Regions from separate parts of the Homo sapiens genome. Here region 2 is linked to region 1. The links are contacts of gene promoters, found by promoter capture Hi-C in blood cells and fetal thymus (Javierre and others, 2016). All regions are on one chromosome and are shown on one strand. The core of a region is centred on a gene start or on the middle of the fragment in contact, and the rest is flanking DNA. Distances in the headings are between cores, read along the strand shown.

What was found. The method cuts DNA at HindIII sites, captures the fragments that hold promoters and counts their contacts. A CHiCAGO score of 5 or more calls a contact.
Region 2: a contact is called between the fragment with the promoter of TALDO1 here and the fragment with the promoter of MIR210HG in region 1, in 1 of 17 cell types (naive CD8 T cells). The highest score is 5.3, in naive CD8 T cells.

The regions. Positions count from the first base shown.
Region 1 is chr11:565,011-570,458 of GRCh38, reverse strand. It overlaps MIR210HG (MIR210 host gene), which reads left to right and starts at 2,002. Exons shown (of 2, transcript NR_038262.1): 1 at 2,002-2,107; 2 at 2,606-4,802. It overlaps MIR210 (microRNA 210), which reads left to right and starts at 2,261; the gene lies at 2,261-2,370. RefSeq lists enhancers at 320-1,070, 3,656-4,210, 4,211-4,765. The HindIII fragment of the contact is 23,407 bases long and covers 1-5,141 here.
Region 2 is chr11:744,035-749,482 of GRCh38, reverse strand. TALDO1 (transaldolase 1) reads right to left here and starts at 2,019. Exons shown (of 8, transcript NM_006755.2): 1 at 1,905-2,019. The coding sequence starts at 2,001. It overlaps LOC105376509 (a long non-coding RNA gene), which reads right to left. Exons shown (of 3, transcript XR_930962.3): 3 at 2,521-2,734. RefSeq lists silencers at 1,419-1,508, 1,609-1,898, 1,959-2,558 and enhancers at 1,738-2,386, 2,689-2,748, 2,387-3,035, 5,114-5,448. The HindIII fragment of the contact is 13,110 bases long and covers 1-5,448 here.

The sequences.
Region 1 (5,448 bases), core at 753-3,252:
CTCAGCCTCCCAAGTAGCTGGGATTACAAGCTCACACTACCATGCCCGGCTGATTTTTTTGTATTTTTAGTAGAGATGGGGTTTCACTATGTTGGCCAGGCTGGCCTCAAACTCCTGGCCTCAGGTGATCTGCCCACCTCGGCCTCCCAGAGTGCTGGGATTACAGGCTTGAGCCACCACACCCGGCCTGTTTTCCCTGTCTTTTATAAGGACACTGATCATTGGATTTAGGGCCCACCCAGAAAGTCCAGGATGATCTCGTTTCAAGATGTTTCCCTTAATGACATCTGCAAAGATGCTTTCTCCCGATGAGGGCACATTTAGGAAGCCTGGGTATTAGGATGTGGATATATCTTCTTTTTGGCGGAGGGACCATCCCACTCACTACAGATGCTGAGAAAAGGTGCCTGTGAAATTGGCAGGACTGGGGGCAGAAGTGGGTTCACGTCAGCAGGGCACGACAGGAACACAGAGCTGCCCTGTCCTCTTGCCCCTTCTTGTCCCCTAGTCTGACTGCCCTAGGAGCCTCTGCCCTGCCATGAAGACGTGGGCCTTCTCAGGGACCCCACTGACTCTTAGAGGCTCCTTCACGACCCACAGGATCGAGGTCTTGCTGACCCCTGACCCCCAATAGAACCGAGTGGCTCCGTGATCCTCTGGGCACCTTCCCCATCCACAGGCAGCCACAGGTGCAAGGAGCCACTCGGTTCTATCGGGGGCCAAGGGTCAAGGGGTCAGCAAGACCTCGGTCATGTCTTGCTGATCATGTCTGAGTCACCCCAGACTCTGCATCTGAATTTTTGTCCCCAGCCTTCAAGCCCCTGAGGACATGGGCTGGTTCGGAAGCTCCCTGGGGCCCCAGCACTTTGCCGCCGGGGCTGGGGCAGGGGGCAGGCTGCGGCCCAGGCCTGCGCGGATGCCGAGGCAGGGAGGTCATGGGGCCAGGGGAGGACAAAGAGCAGGGCGGTGAGTTTAGGGCCAGGGAGCTGAGGGGAGACGGCCCGGGGCCGAGGACCAGGGTGACAGTGCCAAGGGGGGCCGGCGGCCAAATCTCCTTTGGCTGCCACTTTGGAGCCCCACCCCGGAGTCCGATACTTCCACGTCTGAAGCTGGCCCTGCGAGTCCTAACGAAGGTCAAACCGTCAAGGCTCCTTTGATTTTACACGTTTTCAGCGCACAGACAGGATTCTCTCGCCTCGTCCCCTCAAAGACCGGCACAGGGCTGCGAAGACCCCTGAGCCCTTGAGGCACCCCCTCCAGGCTCCAGAGGCTTCCGCGGAGACAGAGCGCGCAGGAGGGACCCAGAGCCCCCAAGGGCGCCCCGTGGGGGTCGCCAGGCAAACCAGGCAGAGCCAGAGCCCCCTCTTCGCCAGCAGGACGGACCCGGGCGTCCTTTGGGGACCCCAAGCCGCCCGGGGGGTGGTGCGTGCGTCCCGAGGACGCCGTGTCCGGGCCCGCGCAGGCCCCACCCGGGTCACGGCCCGGGATACGTGCGCCGGGCGCCCAGCGGGTTGGGGGGGGCGGGCCCGCGGGACGCGGGTGCGGGGCACGGAGGCGGCCGGGTCGTACCACCGCGCCGCGGGAAGAGGGGCAGCTCCCGGCCGGCCCTGCCGCCCCACGCACACCCGCGGGCGGAGGACCCGTCGCCAGGCTGCGCCCCACGCCCAGCCCGGAAGCCCCGCGAGCCCGGGCCATACCACCGCGCGGCGGGAGGAGGACCACCTCGGGCCGTACCATCCGCCCGGCCGGGGGACGCGCCCTGGCCCCGCCGCGCCCTCGCAGCTGGCGCCCCGCAGGCCCCGCCCGGCAGGTGCCGCCCCTCCCCGGGCAGACGTGCAGAAAAGAACGCGCCGGCCTCGCCCGCGAAGGGCCGCGCGGCGGTGGGCGGGGCGTCGCGAACCCCCCTCGCGCCCACTGGCTGCGTTGCGGTAGGGCGGGCCCGGCTAGGCCGGCCATTGGCTGAGGGACCAGGTCATTTGCATACGGGGCTGGGCGTGGAGCCGCGGGGCCCGGGGCCGGTCGGGTCGGGCCGGGGGGCGAGAGGGTGCCAGCGGCCGCAGCTGAAGTTGGGCCGAGAGCCGGCGACGGCCCCGCGCCGGGGTCGCAGGTGACGCGCGAGGGATCCCAGGTTGGCGGGCGGGGCGCCCCTCAGAGGCCGCCCTCCCGCGGGGGCTGCGGGGGGTCGGGCTGGGCAGGCGCGGCGGGGCTCGGACGCCCAAGTTGGAGGGGACGGGGGTGGGGTCAATCCCTCCGCCCGCCCACCCGGCAGTGCCTCCAGGCGCAGGGCAGCCCCTGCCCACCGCACACTGCGCTGCCCCAGACCCACTGTGCGTGTGACAGCGGCTGATCTGTGCCTGGGCAGCGCGACCCTCCTGGCCCCGTGTCCGGGTCTGGCGGGCAGGCGAGCGGCCACACGGGGACGCGAGGGCAGCTGGATACCGTGGGGAGGGGGTGCCCTATGGACGGGGTGTGCCTGTCTGGCCAGCAGGGACGGCGGGTGGGGGTAAGCGAAATCATTCGGGGGCTTTGCTGCCCTCCGCTTGGTGGGGCTGAGGCTGGGCCAGATACCCTCTTGGAGGGAACTTTCTTTTCCTTGTGTGTCCAGGGTACCAGTGTGCGGAGTTCCTGTTGCCAAGCTGAAGGTGGCCCTGGGCAGGCACAGGTGTGGTCATATCTTCAGCCAACAGGACCATCCTCCGGAGGGCCACCTCTGGGGACTTCCTACGGGAAGAGAGTGACAGATTTGGTGCTTCTGTGTGTTTCTGCCGCTTCAGTGGGGCCGCTGCGGGAGACAGCGGGTGGATCCTCCAGCAGCCTGTCTGCTGAGCCTGCCTTCTCAAGTCTACTGTTAAAATCAGGACCGGGTCGTGTCCGAGCCTACAGGCCCTGTCTCCGCTCCCCAGGCCTGCAGGAGTTGAGGGCTGCACCTGCTCGCTGGAGAGGGAGAGGCAGATTTAGTGGACGCCTGGCATGGACTCGGACTGGCCTTTGGAAGCTCCCTGCCCTGACGGGGTTGCCTGTCACCACTGCGAAGTGAGGCTTGGCAGGACCTGCACCTGAGAAAGGCTGTGTGTGGTCTTGGGGTCCACACCTGCAGAGCTAACTTACTGCCAGACGGCGACTTACTGTGGGCCACCCTCAGTGAACCGGGGTGTCCTCAGCTGGCCCTACAGAGCACTTCTGTGCTGGGGATGAGTAGGAACTCTGGGCGAGGAGGGTCCCAGCGCCGCCCCTCGATACAGCCTGGCTCTGCCCTCTGCCCGTACTTACACCAGGTGGGATCCCTGCCCTGCATTGCCTGGGGATTGGCTGGGCTTGGGCCCGCCCTGCTGTGGAACTGGATGTTTTCAGGGAGCCCAGCCTTTCCTCATGTCAACACAGTTCACAATATAGTTTTCAAAGTACAGTTTAAAACTCAAAAGTAAACTTTTCAGCAACTCAAAGGTTTGCTGAGTGATCTGAAGCACTCTGGCCACTTTTTGGGGCCATGGGATTTGGTTCACCTGAAACAGCCAGTGAGAGGCCGGGTGTGGTGGCTCACACCCGTAATCCCAACACTTCAGGAGGCAGACGCGGGTGATCGCTCACTTGAGATCAGGAGTTCAAGACCAGCCTGGGCAACATGGTGAAACCTCGTCTCTACTAAAAATACAAAAATTAGCTAGGCATGGTGGTGGGCACCTGTAATCCCAGCTACTTGGAAGGCTGAGGCAAGAGAATCGCTTGAACCTGGGAGGTGGAGGTTGCAGCGAGACGAGATTACGCCGCTGCACTCCAGCCTGGGTGACGAGAGACTCTGCCTCAAAAAAATAAAAAAATGAAACAGCCAGTGAGGAGGAAGGCTCCCCGCCTTCCCCCCGCCGGAACATAGCCATAGCTGCTGCTGGGACACCCTCTTGGTGGGGAAGAAGGCTGGTTAGCTTCATCAGAGCCAGCAGCAGCAGACCAGGGACGGGCACCTAGGCAGTGGCCTCAGAGTGAACAGGAGTTCCTCAGAAACACACACAGGGACGGCGTGGCGCATGCTCTGCCAGCTCCATGCCTCCTTCCCATTGTGGGGCTGGGGTACGTAGGGCAGAGCTCATGACCTCCGGGAGGACATGGGGGTGGGCTCTGGATGGCACCTGGCATTGCCCCCTGCTGGCCTATGTGACGGTGTGGAGGGCTGGTCACAGAGGTACGACCATCCCTCCAGAATGTGGGTCGGGGCTGTGGATGGAGGAGTAGGCCCCTCATATCCCAGGCCTGCTGCCCAGGCACAACCCACTTGGCCTATGCATTCCAGGCTCCATCCCATGTGACTCTGGGCTTAGCCCCTTCTGGGGCCACAGGTCAGGCAGGTCCAGGCCCCAAGGACCTCCCAGTGACAGGCGACTGTGAGCTGGGCAGACAGGAGTGAAGTCAGGTGGGGGTTCTGGCTTGCTGACACCAGCGTTTGGAGCCTCCTGCTGCTGCCTGGCTTCCCTGCATTCCCTGTTCCCTGCCTCAGGCAAGAAATAACCAAGCCGAGTTGCCTCTGCACAGCAGTGAGCTCCTGGTGGCCCTGGCTTCTGGGGAGCCCTGTGGATGGCTTCCTTGCCCAAGTCCAGGCCTTCTTGTTCCCTTTGTGTGCTCCAGAGAAAGGGGGCAGCACCAGATCCAGATCCAGGGCCAACCAACAGAAAGCTGAGTCCATCCCAAACTCGCCCATTCTCAGAGCACAAAGACCCCATGATCTAGGGCAAACTTGTCCAACTGTTGGCCCATGGAACAGCTTTGAATGCAGCCCAACACAAATCTATAAATTTTCTTAAACATTGTGAGTTGTTTTTTGTTGTTATTTTGAGACAGAGTCTCGATCTGTCGCCCAGGCTGGAGTTAGTGGCCCAATCTCGGCTCACTGCAAGCTCCGCCTCCTGGGTTCACGCTCGTCTCCTGCCTCAGCCTCCCGAGTAGCTGGGACTACAGGCGCCCGCCAACACGCCTGGCTAATTTTGGTATTTTTAGTAGAGACGGGGTTTCACCACGTTAGCCAGGATGGTCTTGATCTCCTGACCTTGTGATCTGCCCGCCTCGGCCTCCCAAAGTGCTGGGATTACAGGTGTGAGCCACCGTGCCTGGCCAACATTGTGAGTTTTTTTTACGATTTTTTTTTTAAAGCTTATCAGCTATCATTACTGTATTCCATGTATGGCCCATGTATGGCCTCAGTGTATTCCAATGTGGCCCAGGGAAGCCAAAAGATTGGACACCCCTGACCTAGGGCATCCCCATCCTCTGCCTTCCCATGCATGGCTGTACCCAGGTATAGGGGTCCTCCACATTCTGCTCAACACAAAAGATTTCTCCAGCCCCAACCATGGATCCTGGAGCTGGGAGTGTATGGCTTACCCTTAGAACCAGGAGAGGTGACAGCTAGCCCAAGGGCCCAGGCAGGGGCTGGGCTGTGGACACAATTTTTTTTTATTT
Region 2 (5,448 bases), core at 770-3,269, 180 kb before region 1:
AATGAATGTATTTTTTTGTTAATATTCATTAAAAAAAAATGTCACAACTTGGGTTTAGAAGATTTTTTTTTTTTTTTTTTTGAGACGGAGTTTTGCTCTGTCGCCCAGGCTGGAGTGCAGTGGTGTGATCTTGGCTCACTGCAACCTCCGCCTTCTGGGTTCAGCAATTCTCCTGCCTCAGCCTCCCAAGTAGCTGGGATTACAAGCATGCAACACCGCACCCAGCTAATTTTTGTATTTTTAGTAGAGACGGGGTTTCACCATGTTGGTCAGGCTGGTCTCGAACTCCTGACCTCGTGATCCACCTGCCTCAACCTCCCAAAGTGCTGGGATTACAGGCGTGAGCCACCTCGCTGGGCCAGAAGTTTTCTTAAAAAACAATACAAAACAAAACCAGAAACCCAGGACTCCCCAGCCCTCCTGTGGGTGTGGGTTTAGGAAAATCCATCTTTATTGGCCCTGCACTGCCAAGTGTAATGGACCTGACACTCCGCACCAGCTCTGCCCTAACTGGTGAGGGCCAGTAAGGAACAATACAGATGAGCGCTCTGTCCACCAGGCAAACTGCAAATTATTCTCAGTGCTAAGAAGGGAAAAAACTGAGCAGCAGAAAAATGTGTAGCCCCTTTTCTGGAGCTTTCTTTCTTATGAAGAGAGGTCTGGACTACAACGGGGGGGCTGTGTGTGTGAGGGATTCACAGCTCTAGCTTTGGATCTCCCAAAGAGGGGTCCGGAGCAGACTGTGGCACCCCAAGCCAGTCACTGAATCCCCATATTTTATGGTTAAGCAGCCAAACATGCCAATTCACTCTCTAGGCTCTGCTAGATAAACAATGCCCTTACTCAGTTACCAAAGAGGAATTAAAGCCTGTTTCTCAAGTCACCATGAGAAAGCAGAAAAGAGAGGAAGTCACTTCCGTATTAGGTGCTCGCAGCATTCATCCATGAAGCGTTTCATGATTTTCTTAAAAAATATTACTTGTTCTCAACAAAACATAGACACAAGGCTCGTCTACTCTGCACTGCAGAGGACAGAAGAGCTAAGTATTAATAAATAATCCTTCTTTGTATTTTCCAAGTTCTCTCCAATGTAAACAACTCAAGCCCAGGAAAATCCAGTATTTAACAGTGTACCAACCCTGTGCTTTCATGGGCACCGGCTTTTACCCACCCGGTGCGTCTGGCGGTGGCTGTCCAGCAGGCCGGGCACCTGCCGCCCACGGAGTTGTCCCACTGGGCACCGCAGGGCTCAAGGGCGATGGCAGCACTGGCAGCTTCTGGTCAGAGCTAGCTGATGTCCCCGCTCTGCAGACATCAGCCCAACAAAATTGCATCTCGCTGACCACAAACTGGCCACGTGGAAGTCAGCTCGAAGCTCTACCCTGAATCTCTCCTGAACTCAAAGGCTCTGAAAGCTGCCTCGACCCATGAAGGTGCACAGAGGGGCTCCCGCGGGCTGCCCACAGCCCGTCCCGGGTGCGGGGTCTGAGGGCGCAGCCGACCCCACCCTGGGCGGAGGGCGAGGCTGGGGCTCCGGCTTCGTGCCCCACGGCTCGCAAGGACCCGTCAGTACCGCCCGCACCGCTGACCCCAGCACCGAGCCCCTCACGGCTGACCCCAGCTCCTCACGGCTGCCCCCGGCCCTGCTCCCTCACGGCCGACCCGGGCCCCGTTCCCCTCACGGTCGCCGCTGGCCCTGCGCCTCTCACGGCCGACCCGGGCCCCGCTCCCCTCACGGCTGTCCCTGGCCCCAACATCCGGCACCTGCGCTCATTCCTCCCGGAACGAGCCGCCCGGGGCACCGCCACCCGGTCCGCGTCCCGGAACGGGAGACCCGGGGAAATCGGGGCGCCGGGGCCTCTGGAGGGCGCTTGCGCCGCGCCCGGGCTCCGCGCCGTCCTCACCGTGGAAGTCGCCCGTGTCGGCCACCACGGTGGTGAACTGCTTGAGCTGGTCCAGCGCGGACTCCATCCTCTGACGCTTCACGGGTGAGCTCGACATAGCAAGACCGAGGGGTCTGCGGCGGCGGCGGCGGCGACGGGACGGGCGCGCGGACGGCCCACAATGCCCCGCGGGCGGCTGCCAATCGGAAAGCGGCGCGGGAGGGCGAGGCCCGCTGGTCCCTGCGCGCCTGGACGAAGCCCCGCCCCCGGGGACGAAGCCCGAGCGCCACTGCCGGCCGCGCACCGCAGCTGCGGATCCTACAGGCTGGGTCTCCCCAGGTCCTCAGCAGCCGCCGCGGACGGGCCCGGGAAAACACCTGCACGACACGGGGCGGCTGGGCCTCGCCTCCTTCCTGCCCCGCGGGACGCACCGGGAGGGCTGGAGGAGATGGACCTGGCCCGGGTGCCGACTCTGCGGGGCTGAACCCGCCAGGGCCGAACCCGGCGATGCAGGATCCATGGTGGGGCCAGGACTGGGGTCGGGGGCCGCTGCAGGAAGCAGGGGAGGGAGCGGCGGGGGACGCCCTGCGGGTGCAGGAGGCAGAGCAGGGGGCGGCTGCAGAGCCCGGGCGCCGGACGCGGCGGGGAACCTGCTTCTGGGAATCTGTTCCCCTGAGTCCTAAGCCCAGAGGTGTCCGGGGGACCGAACGGCGAGGCAGGCGTAGGAGGCCCAGCTGCCCTGCTTCTTACCATCGCTGACTTGCAGAGTTCCTTGTATATTCTGATCAAGTCTCTGTCGCTTGTGTCTGCGTTGCAGACACTGTAACCGCCCCATGGGTTCGCCTTGCCAGCTGCCGGGACAGAGTCTATTGTCAAGACAGGGGAATTGCAATAGAGAAAGCATAATTCACACAGAGCCGATTGTTCGGGAGACCAGAGTTTTATTCCTCAAATCAGTCTCCCCAAAACTCGGGGATCCCAGTATTTAAGAATAATTTGGTGGGTAGGGGGCCAGTGAGTCAGAAGTGCTGACTGGTCAGCTAGGGATGAAATCACAGGGAGTCGAAGCTGTCCGCTTATGCTGAGTCAGTCCCTGGGTAGAGGCCACACAACTGGTTGGCAGGTCCAGGTGGGGCCATCCGGTTGTCAGAAATGCAAAAACCTGAAAAGACTTTTTTTTTTTTTTGAGACGGAATCTCGCCCTTGTTGCCCAGGCTGGAGTGCAGTGGCGCGATCTTGGCTAACTACAACCTCCGCCTCCCGGGTTCGAGCGATTTTCCTGCCTCAGCCTCCCGAGTAGCTGGAATTACAGGCGCTCACCACCACGCCCGGCTAATTTTTGTATTTTTAGTACAGACGGGGTTTCATCATGTTGGCCAGCATGGTCTCGATCTCCTGACCTCGTGATCCGCCCACCTCAGTCTCCCAAAGTGCTGGGATTCCAGGCGTGAGCCACCGCGCCCGGCGGAAAAGACTTCTTAAAAGGCAAATCCTAGGCTGACGCGGTGGCTCAGGCCTGGAATCCCAGCACATTGAAAGGCCAAAGCAGGCGATCACTTGAGGTCAGGAGTTGGAGACCAGCGTGGCCAACATGCAAAACCCCGTCTCTACTAAAAATACAAAATTAGCCAGGCGTGGTGGCACATGGCTGTAATCCCAGCTACTTGGGAGGCTGAGGCAGGAGAATGGCTTGAACCTGGGAGGTGGAGGTTGCAGTGAGCCGAGATTGTCCCTCTGTACACTAACCTGGGCTACAGAACGAGACTCCATTTAAAAAAAAAAAAAAGGCCAACCCTAGGTTCACAGTAGTGTTGATATCTTGGGGAAGTTGCAAATCTTATCTTATGACCTCCAGAATAATGGCTGATAATATTTAGACTTCCAGCCCCTCTCATTCTAACTTGGTGGCTGGTGGCCTTTCATTCATTTTACAAGAACAGTCTAGTTTTGGGGAAGGGCTATTATTTAAACTATAAATTAAATTCCTTCCCAAGACTTGTTTGGCCTATGGCCAGTAATGGACAAGGACCGTTTGAAGGTTAGAAACAAGATGGAATTGGTTAAGTCTGTTATCTTTCACTGTCATAATTTCCTTAGTTATAATTTTGCAAAGGTGGTTTCAATACTTCCTCTCAGCATGTGTTCCCTTTTCATTTTAATAGTGTCTTTAATGAACGTTAGCTTTTTATTTTGATTAAGTTCAATTTATCAAGTTTTAATTTTATATTTACTCCTCTTTTTTGGTATCTTCTCTAAGGAGTCTTTGCTTGCTCCAAAGTGACAAATTTTTTTTTTTTTCTGGTGAGATGGAGATTTACTCTTGTTGCCCAGGCTGGAGTGCAATGGCGCGATCTCAGCTCACCGCATCCTCCGCCTCCCAGGTTCAAGCGATTCTCCTGCCTCAGCCTCCCGAGTAGCTGGGATTACAGGCATGGGCCACCATGCCCGGCTACTTTTGTATTTTTAGTAGAGACGGGGTTTCACCGTGTTGCCCAGGCTGATCTCAAACTCCTGACCTCGTGTTCCACCTGCCTCGGCCTCCCAAAGTGCTGGGATTACAGGTGTTAAGCAACTGCGCCCGGCCAACGCCCAGCTAACTTTTGTATTTTTAGTAGAGACAGAGTTTCACCGTGTTAGCCAGGATGGTCTCAATCTCCTGACCTCGTGATCCGCCCACCCTAGTCTCCCAAAGTGCTGGGATTATAGGCGTGAGTCACCACGCCCAGCCAACAAAAATATTTTTTTTTTTTTTTTTTTTTGAGACGGAGTCTCGCTGTCGCCCAGGCTGGAGTGCAGTGGCGCAATCTCGGCTCACTGCAGGCTCCGCCCCCTGGGGTTCACGCCATTCTCCTGCCTCAGCCTCCCGAGTAGCTGGGATTACAGGCACCCGCCACCTCGCCCGGCTAAATTTTTTGTATTTTTAGTAGAGACGGGGTTTCATCGTGTTAGCCAGGATGGTCTCGATCTCCTGACCTCGTGATCCGCCCGCCTCGGCCTCCCAAAGTGCTGGGATTACAGGCGTGAGCCACCGCGCCCGGCCTCAAAAATATTTTCTTATGATGTCTTGGTTTTCAGCTGTTATGTTAAGAGTCTTTGAGGCCACTCCAGTTTGTTTGTTTTTTTTTTGTTGTTTTTTTTTTTTTGAGACGGAGTCTCCCTCTGTCGCCCAGGCTGGAGTGCAGTGGCACGATCTCGGCTCACTGCAAGCTCCGCCTCCCAGGTTCATGACATTGTCTTGCCTCAGCCTCCCGAGTAGCTGGGACTACAGGCGCCCACTACCACGCCCGGCTAATTTTTTGTATTTTTAGTAGAGACGGGGTTTCACATGAGCCACCGCACAGGGCCCCCTTGATTTTTGTCTCTGTGACCTAGAAGTGGAAGGTAGTTTTTCTCTACCGCGCCTGGCCCCCTTTATTTTTGTCTCCGTGACCTGGATATGGAAAGTAGTTTTTCTCCACCTGTTCCAGCATCTGTTGAGAGGACTTTCTTCTCTCCATTGAAATGCAAAAATAGGAAATATACATCACAGAAGAAGGTATAGAGCAGGTAGCCATCTTTTGTCTTC